Linked DNA regions of Homo sapiens: region 2 is linked to region 1. Evidence: promoter capture Hi-C in 16 types of primary human blood cells and fetal thymus (Javierre and others, 2016). All regions are on one chromosome and are shown on one strand. The core of a region is centred on a gene start or on the middle of the fragment in contact, and the rest is flanking DNA. Distances in the headings are between cores, read along the strand shown.

The links. The method cuts DNA at HindIII sites, captures the fragments that hold promoters and counts their contacts. A CHiCAGO score of 5 or more calls a contact.
Region 2: a fragment that was not itself captured here is called in contact with the fragment with the promoter of TBC1D16 in region 1 in 1 of 17 cell types (total CD8 T cells); the score reaches 6.1 in total CD8 T cells.

The regions. Positions count from the first base shown.
Region 1 is chr17:80,033,962-80,037,850 of GRCh38, forward strand. It overlaps TBC1D16 (TBC1 domain family member 16), which reads right to left and starts at 1,911. Exons shown (of 12, transcript NM_019020.4): 1 at 1,834-1,911. CCDC40 (coiled-coil domain 40 molecular ruler complex subunit) reads left to right here and starts at 2,681. Exons shown (of 20, transcript NM_017950.4): 1 at 2,681-2,730. The coding sequence starts at 2,702. RefSeq lists a silencer at 1,910-1,979 and enhancers at 2,170-2,289, 3,189-3,483. The HindIII fragment of the contact is 6,044 bases long and covers 710-3,889 here.
Region 2 is chr17:79,746,756-79,750,845 of GRCh38, forward strand. No RefSeq gene overlaps it. Among named protein-coding and RNA genes, the nearest start is that of ENPP7, 18 kb to the left of the region's middle. RefSeq lists an enhancer at 932-1,871. The HindIII fragment of the contact is 3,074 bases long and covers 1-2,787 here.

The sequences.
Region 1 (3,889 bases), core at 661-3,160:
GGAGCTGGGACGTCCTGGGCCTAAGGCCTAATTCTGTCACTCCTAACTGCATGAGCTTGGGAAGTTACTTCTCTAAGCGTCAGTGTTCCCATCTGTAAATGGGCATAACTGCAGTCCTGACTTCATGAGCTTGTTTTGTGGGTTAAGTGAATTCATGCATGATAATTAGGAACTACTAACGCAATCACCAAAATTGCTAGAGGATTAAATAATTCCACAGATAAAAACTTTTTTTTTCCTTTTTTTTTTTTTTTTTGAGACATAGAATGTTGCTCTATCACCCGGGCTGGGGTGCAGTTGCACATCTTGGCTCACTGCAACCTTCGCCTCCCGAGCTCAAGCGATTCCCCTGTCTCAGCCTCCTGAGTACTGGGATTACAGGCTCACGCCACCACACCGGGCTAATTTTTGTATTTTTAGTAGATATGGGGGGTTTCACCATATTGGCCAGGCTGGTCTCGAACTCCTGACCTCAGGTGATCCGCTCGCCTCGTCCTCCCAAAGTGCTGGGATTACAGCCGTGAGCCACGGCGCCCAGCCATAAAAACTTTCGCCATAAAAACTTTCGTTAGCCATAGTCTCACCATAAACATGCCACTTACAAAAAAATATGCGCACAATAACCACGCTCAGGATGCAAACAACATCCATTAATGAACTTTGTAGTTAATACCAAAAGTTACTCCTCACTTTATTCTTTATTTACAAAAGCTTTCATGGTTCTTAAAAGTGTTTAGTATTCACCAATTTTACTGTTAGCGTTTCTAATGAGGATTTTCTAAAACTGAGGCATGGATTTGAAAAAGTGTTCTGATCAATCAGTAACAGATTTGGAATGGAATCTCCAGCCCCCAGTCTTTGCGCCCACCCTCTGGCAATATGCCGCCTCACGTGAGCATCTTTAAGACGGAGTTCCCTTTTTATTCCAGATAAAAGAATTAGGAGCCTTCTGGTAGAAAAGAAAGCAGATCTTCAGGATCAAGTCGCAGAGGCTGGCCAATCAGCCCAGCTTCTCATTTGAACTTGACCCAGACAGTAAAACAAACTTTACCATAAGGCGAGACTAACTTTTGTTATGTCTTTTCTATTCATTTCCTATTTCTGAATCAAATCTGAACTACTTTGTGGCCAATATACGACACCAGCTTCCGAGTGTGGGAATCACAGGATTTCAGGATTCAGCGGCTTCCGGCAGGATCCCCTAGGTTATGTTTAGCAATCTTCAGTTGCCTTTCCTTTTTTTCTTTCCTTCCTTTCGTTCTTTCTTTCTTTTTCTTTTTTTTTTTTTCCCAAAGGAAAGAACAAGGGAGCCCAGGCGGAACGGAAGTGAGTATCCCGACACGCGGATCTTAAACAGCCCAGACCACCAAGCCCGACAGGCCGGGAAAGCTGAGCGCGCGCTGCTGGGGGGACGCACACTTTGGAGGCTGTGTGGGCGCGCGCCGGCACCCCACAAGTTCTCATCCGTCTGCTCCGCCGATTCAGCCAGACAAAGACCGCAAGTTCCCCGGTCCACCGCTCCAGACAGGCGGGGACCAGTCTCCCCGAATTAGGCCCATTCCGGGCCCGGGCGCCCTCACTCGCCGCGGGGAAAAGTCCCCAGGTGCCCCTCCGTGATCCAGGTCCTCCCACAACGCTCCCGCTCCTGCTGGCGCCCCGCACCCCGAGGACGGCGGCCGGACCCCGGCCCCTCCCCGGTCCCGCGGCTGCAGGCCCACGCGCCCCACGCGCCCCGCGCGCCCCCGCCCCAGCTCCGCCGAGGGGGCGCTGCTCGCTGCGCGGTGGACCCCTCGGACCCCGCCCCCGCGGCCCCGTCCGGGCCCCGATACCCACCCGGGTCCCGCTGCGGGGGCCGGATTCGCGCCGGCTCCGAGAGCCGCCACCGTCGCCTCCGCCGCTGCCGCCGCCAGTGAGGCGCGGCGGGGCGGGGACGCGCGGGGAGGCCCGGCCCCCGGCCCGCCCCCGGGCCCGCCCCCGGCCCGGCCCCTGCCTGCCCCCGCCGGTCTCCCCGCCCACCTTCTGGCCCAGCCCTGGGCCCAAGCCTCTAGTTCCCTGCTGGCCCTCCCTCAGGCCTCGCCGCGTCCCGGCCTCGGGGACTGTGCCCCGTCCCGAGCCTGGCGTCCCCAAAGGAAAGGCAGGGCTCCTCGGACGCTCCGCGTGCGCGCTGGCCCTCCGCTGCCGCCCTCTGCAGGGAGATTTCTCCTATTTCGGACTAGGAAGGGAAGATACGCTCCGGAAGACCCCCCGGGCGTCCATGCAAGGAGTCTCCGTAGGACCCCTGGAGAAGGGCACCGGAGCCCCCTAGGGCAGGAGATGGAAAAGCGCTCGCCATGCGCGGGGTCCCCGGCCCCCGGTGCCCCCAGCCCGCCTGCCATTCCCGGGCGCTTAGCAGTCCGGGGTCCCCAGGTGCCCGGCAGGTCCCTTCGGGACCTCGAGCCGCCCGCTGGGCACACGCTGACGCCGCTGTCGCTTTACAGAAATTGAGCGCAGCCGAGGCGGGACCCGGGCGCAGAGAGCGATAAAGGAAAAGCATGGTCGTGCTCTAATCATTACAGTCTAAGGGACGACACGTCGAGACGGCGCGCGCCTCTGCGTGCGTGGAGATGGCACAAAGGCCGCGCCGCCCCCGGCGGCCCCCGCCCTCGCAGCGCGCGTGGTCCCGGCCCGGCCGGATGTTGACAGCGTCGCCTAGCAACGGGAAATGGCGGAACCGGGCGGCGCGGCGGGCCGGTAAGCCGGGCCGAGGGGCAGCGGGTCTTGGAGTCGCCAGGCCGCGCTCTCCGTTCACCGCTCCAGGTGGCCCCCGCGTCGGCTCCTGCCTCGCCCCTTCGCCTCCACTCCCCCTTCCTCTCGCCTGTGTCCCTTCTCTCGCCATTTTGCTGGCCTTTCCCGTCCACTGCGTTCAGCCCCTCACCCCCCCGCCAACCCTTCTCACTTCTCCCCTCCTGTCCCTTTGTCCTCTCTCGGCCTCCCTCTTTCCCCTACTCCAAGCGCGCGACTCCCTCTAAAACCCGGGACCGCTCACTCTGCAGTCACCATGGCAACCACTCTGCGTGGCGGTCCCTGCGCGCAGTCCTCCTAAGAGTAGAGGGCTCTGCAGGGCGCGGGGCTGTTGGATACCGCCCCTGACCTTGCTCCGGGGCCACTCGCTGTGGCCGGAGACCAGCCCGGCCCCGCGCCTCCCTCCTGCAAGGACAGATCCCCTCTCGCAGGCTTGGGGGTGACCCGCGATGGGAGGGGTCCCTGCGGTTAGGCGGCCCGCGATAGTCCGCGGTCACCGTCCTGGGGCCTGGGTGGAAGCACTGAGCGCGCACAGGGAGGGCGGCTGAGTGAAGATCCCTGCCACCGGGCCTCTGCTCGCTTAGGCTCTGTTTAAAAGGATAGAAACGATTGGAAAGAGTTTGGCCTTTTTACCTTAGACACATCGGTATTGTTTCATTTTTTTAAAGGTGGGTCTGTATGTATTGACATGGAAAGACTAAAGGTATTATTAATAAAACGATAGGCATAAATGTAAAAGGGTAGGTATACTATGATCTCTAATTCAGGGTGTGTGTGTGTGTTTAAAACATAGAAAAATGTTGAAAGAATGTGGTCCTAAATGTTATCAATGATTATCTTGGGAAGGAAAGGGAAGATCACAGGGAACTGTCACTGTCTGTCTCTTTGAACATATCTATATTCCTTTGACAGATAAAAATAGCTTGAATCTTTAATTTTTTAAAAAAGATATACATATATATATATATATATATATATTCCTGTGCTACGTAAATCGTGGAGAAACTCAGAGTCCCCAGAACACTTACTCTGATCGCGCTACTTTCTCTACGTTGTATTTCTTTTCCCCAGTTTTGTCCCAGACACAAGTTATATTTGAGGTGACTTT
Region 2 (4,090 bases), core at 1-2,500, 290 kb before region 1:
AGGCACATCCACTCCCACACTCCTTAACCTGAAGGTCTAGGGTGGGCCTGAGACTCTGCATTTCTGACCAGAGCCTGCGTGATTCCGCTGCTGCTGGCCTGGGCCAGACACTCCAGAATCGCTGCACCTGATAAAGGTTATGGATAAATGAATGCATGAGGGAGTGAAAGCTGGTCCTGCCCATCCTCCTCAGGTTAAACGGATGAAAAGGCAGCACCACCCCTGGGCCAGGAACTGGGCAGAGGAGGGAGGGGAGCACAGGCACCTCCAGGCTCAATCCCAGTGGGGCCTGGCCAGCTCCTTCCCAGAGAGGCGCTGCTTGCTTATGCAAACAAGCCCTTTCTTTCCAGAATGCAGGGAGCACGGGCCCAGATTCTCTCCTCTGCACTGACGTCCGGCCTCTGTCAAAGGCAGGGACTTCCTTGGTTCACCATAAGCCTTTTCTTGTGTCCCGGGTCGGAACAGGAGAACCTGTAGGTTCATGTAACCGACAAGTCTGTTCGCGATGCCGTCCTGGGCTCCTTAAGGCCTGGGCTCCCCATCTTTAGTATGGGCGGGTTCATCTCCCACAAGCCGATCCTAAGAGCCAATAACCACGCCTGAGGCTTCCGACCTAGGAGCTGCAAACACCTGGCGCGGGGGACTCTCAGGGGAAAGAAACAGCAGGAATTACTCTGTCCCCAGCTCCAGGCCGGCAGAGGACCCGAGTGAGGTCCCCGGGTTCCCCGGGCAAGCAGCAGGGACCGAGGAGGGCACCGCGTCCCGACCCCTGCCCCGGCGCCCCACCAGGAGGGATGTCAAGGCGAGGGAGGATTCCCAGGGGTGCGTGCTGGGGCAGCCCAGTTCCTCCGCGGGCTTCTTTGGGACGAGCAGCCTCCCCTCCCCCACGCCCGCCTTCTGAGGTGCGCAGGGCCCCCTCCCCACCGCAGCGGCGCGGGGGCTGCAGGAGCATCTGTTGCCATGGTGACGCGCGGCGCTGCGCTCCTCGGATCCGGCGCCACCGCCGCCACCACCGCAGTCCAAGAAGCCGAGAGCTGGGGCTCAGGCGGGACCGGGACACCGGCATCCCGCACACGCGCCACACACACTGCACATGTGCGACGGGCATCCACGCACGCTGCACACCGGCACACTCACAGGCACACTCATGCGCTTGCCACCCCATCCCCCCACCCAGACACAGACACACAACACAACACACACGCACACACTGCACACACCTGGCACCGTGTGCACCACCTCATGCCACAAGCAGCCACACACCCCACACGCGCCCGAACAACACCCTTCACCCACACTGCACACGCTGCAGCCCTGTACACGCCACATAACACACGCACCCCACACACCCACTCGGGACCCCGACGCGGGTGAACAAGCGATGGGAACAGGCCCTCGGGGTGGGCCGTAGCGGGTAGGGCGGGCGGCGGGGGTCGCACCCGGGTCGGCGCACGCGCAGCAGGCTAGTGCCGCCCCCTCCCCCTCGCCGGCTGCCACGTCTTTGCCCTCTCCGCGGCCGGGCCCTGCGGGGCACCCTGGGTGCCCGACGGCCTCCGGGAGCGCGGTGGGCTCCAGCCCCGCACCCCGCGAAGGAACGGTCAGCGCAGTCCCCCGGGCCCTCCGCCCCTCGCCGGGCCTTGCGCGCCCCCCGCCGCCCGGAGCGCCTGAGTACCGCATCCCAGGGCGCGGCGCAGCCAACGCGCAACCCGCCCAGGTCAGGGGTGCCCGCGCCTGGGCCGCCGGCGGTGCGGTCCCGCAAGGGCGAGGGAGGGACTGGGCCTCGGGACCCCCATCCCCGGGATGCCTCCGTGCCTAGCCCGGACCGCGCCCTGGAAGAGATCGCCCTTCCATCCTGTGGGGTTGGAGGAGGGATGGGGCACCTCTGGGGCGGGGCAGGGACCCGGGCCCCTCGCGCACCCGCGGAGCCGGGAAAGCGATCCCCGAAGGCCCCAGTCTCTCCTGGCGCCTGGAGAACCCAATCAGGCTGTGTTTTTGGCTTTGGTTTTGGTGACAGATCACTGTGTGACTTTTGGCTTCAATGTCTGAAGAGGTTCAAACAGTGGAGAGACATAACCCTAAGAGAACTGTCCATCACCACGGATCAATTTACGTAAATGAGTTTTCTCACGGTCCAAGCCCATCAAAATAAAAACAGGTTTGGAATTGATTCTGGGCTCTGTCCCAGATAAGAAATAATATTTATCCAATGACATCTGAACCATTGGGAAAAAATACAATCCCACCCATCTCATTAAGAGATGCAGTCCAACAAAAATTTAACTTTTATGTATATAATAAACATATACTGCAATTTTAATATATTTATGCTGGTTTGATCAATTTAACAATTCAATTTAATATTCAATCCAGAATAAATTTTTTAAATACTGAGAGCCTTAGAGTCACAGGAAATAAAATATTTTAAATCTAAATTATGGTTCAAATATTGATATTTCTAGACCTGGTCTAATTCTAAAAGAATTTACTTTGATGAGCATTTTTGAGACATAGGTTAATATTTTTTAAAGTTTGAATAACTGATGTGCCTGTTCTTGTTGCAGACATATGCTTGGGTGAGCAGTGAATTACTTTCAAACATAAAAATATTTTTTATTACAATAAGGTTTTGGAGAAGAAATGAAACAGAACCCAGAGGTAAAGAAGAAAAGGATCAAAAAGAACCTGCCCTTTTATTGGGTCACATTGCTACCTTATTTCTATTTCATTGGATACACTTAAAAGGATTGCCCAAGGAAAACTGGAGGCAGATTGCACTTAGAAAAAAAAAGCTTTCTTGCAAAGGAGCCAGACTTCAGAAGGACTGACTCACCAAATACAAAAATCCAACAAGTATTTAAAGGGAAAAAAAATTCCCAAGAGAATCAAGGTTAGTAAATGTACATTCCTCTGTCTCTGGTGGTTAGCGGCAGCTTCCTCACGTGATTATGCTAATCCTAAAAGCTAGGACACCGGCTTGGAAAAGCAAAAGTCACAGCTAAAATTCTTGTTATTGTAGAGTCCAGGTCCACAGGAAGTAGTTAAGGTTTTATAATTTGGGGACTCTGTGATTTTTGGTTTCAACTGAAGAACTGTGACTTCTTCAATGATATTGGAAGCAGGATAAAATGTCAGCTTTGGCTTCTATAGAGAGAACAGCAGTTTTATTTTTTTAAATGCCAAAATTTACAGTACACTGGAAATCACATACTTTGCAACCATGTAAACTTCATGGTGGAAAAATGGTAGCTGTCAATCTTAAAAGGTGTCAAGGGCTATTATTTTTTTAAATTATTTTCCAGGCCATGTGGGTGAAGACACTTGGAGGCCATGACCCTAGGCCAGTTCCTTTTTGGACAGAAGAAGAAACTGAGGTTTAGGGGAGGAGAGTGACCTGTCCACTGTCCACAGCTGATAACAAGCAAGGGAGGCGGTGCAAACGCCCAACAGCCCAGGAAAGATGACACCCCCACCACCCATCGTTAGAGAAAAGTAAATTAATGCCACAGCACACCCCCTAGGATGGCTAGAACTTTTTATTTTTTTTAAAAAAAAGAAAATAACAAGTGTTGGTAAGGAGGTAGAAATGTTGCAGCCCTCAGAGATGGCAGGCTGGAGTGTAAGACGATGCAGCTTCCATGCGAATTCTGACAATTCCTCAGTAAGTTACACATGGAATAATTTATTGAATTATTGAAATTATTTGAATAATTTATTCAAACTTTTTTTTTTTGAGATGGAGTTTCGCTCTTGTTGCCCAGGCCGGAGTGCAGTGGCATGATCTTGGCTCACTGCAACTTCCACCTCCCAGGTTCAAGCGATTCTCCTGCCTCAGCCTCCTGAGTAGCTGGAACTACAGGCACACACCATCATGCCTGGCTAATTTTTGTATTTTTAGTAGAGACGGGGTTTCACTATCAGGCTGGTCTTGAACTCCTGACCTCAGATGATCCACCCACCTCGGCCTCCCAAAGTGCTGGGATGACAGGCATGAGTGAGCCACCGCGCCCAGTCTCAAACTTTTAAAAACAGTAACCGCGCCCAGTCTCAAACTTTTAAAAATAGTAACCAATGTCTTTTAAAATGCTCATCA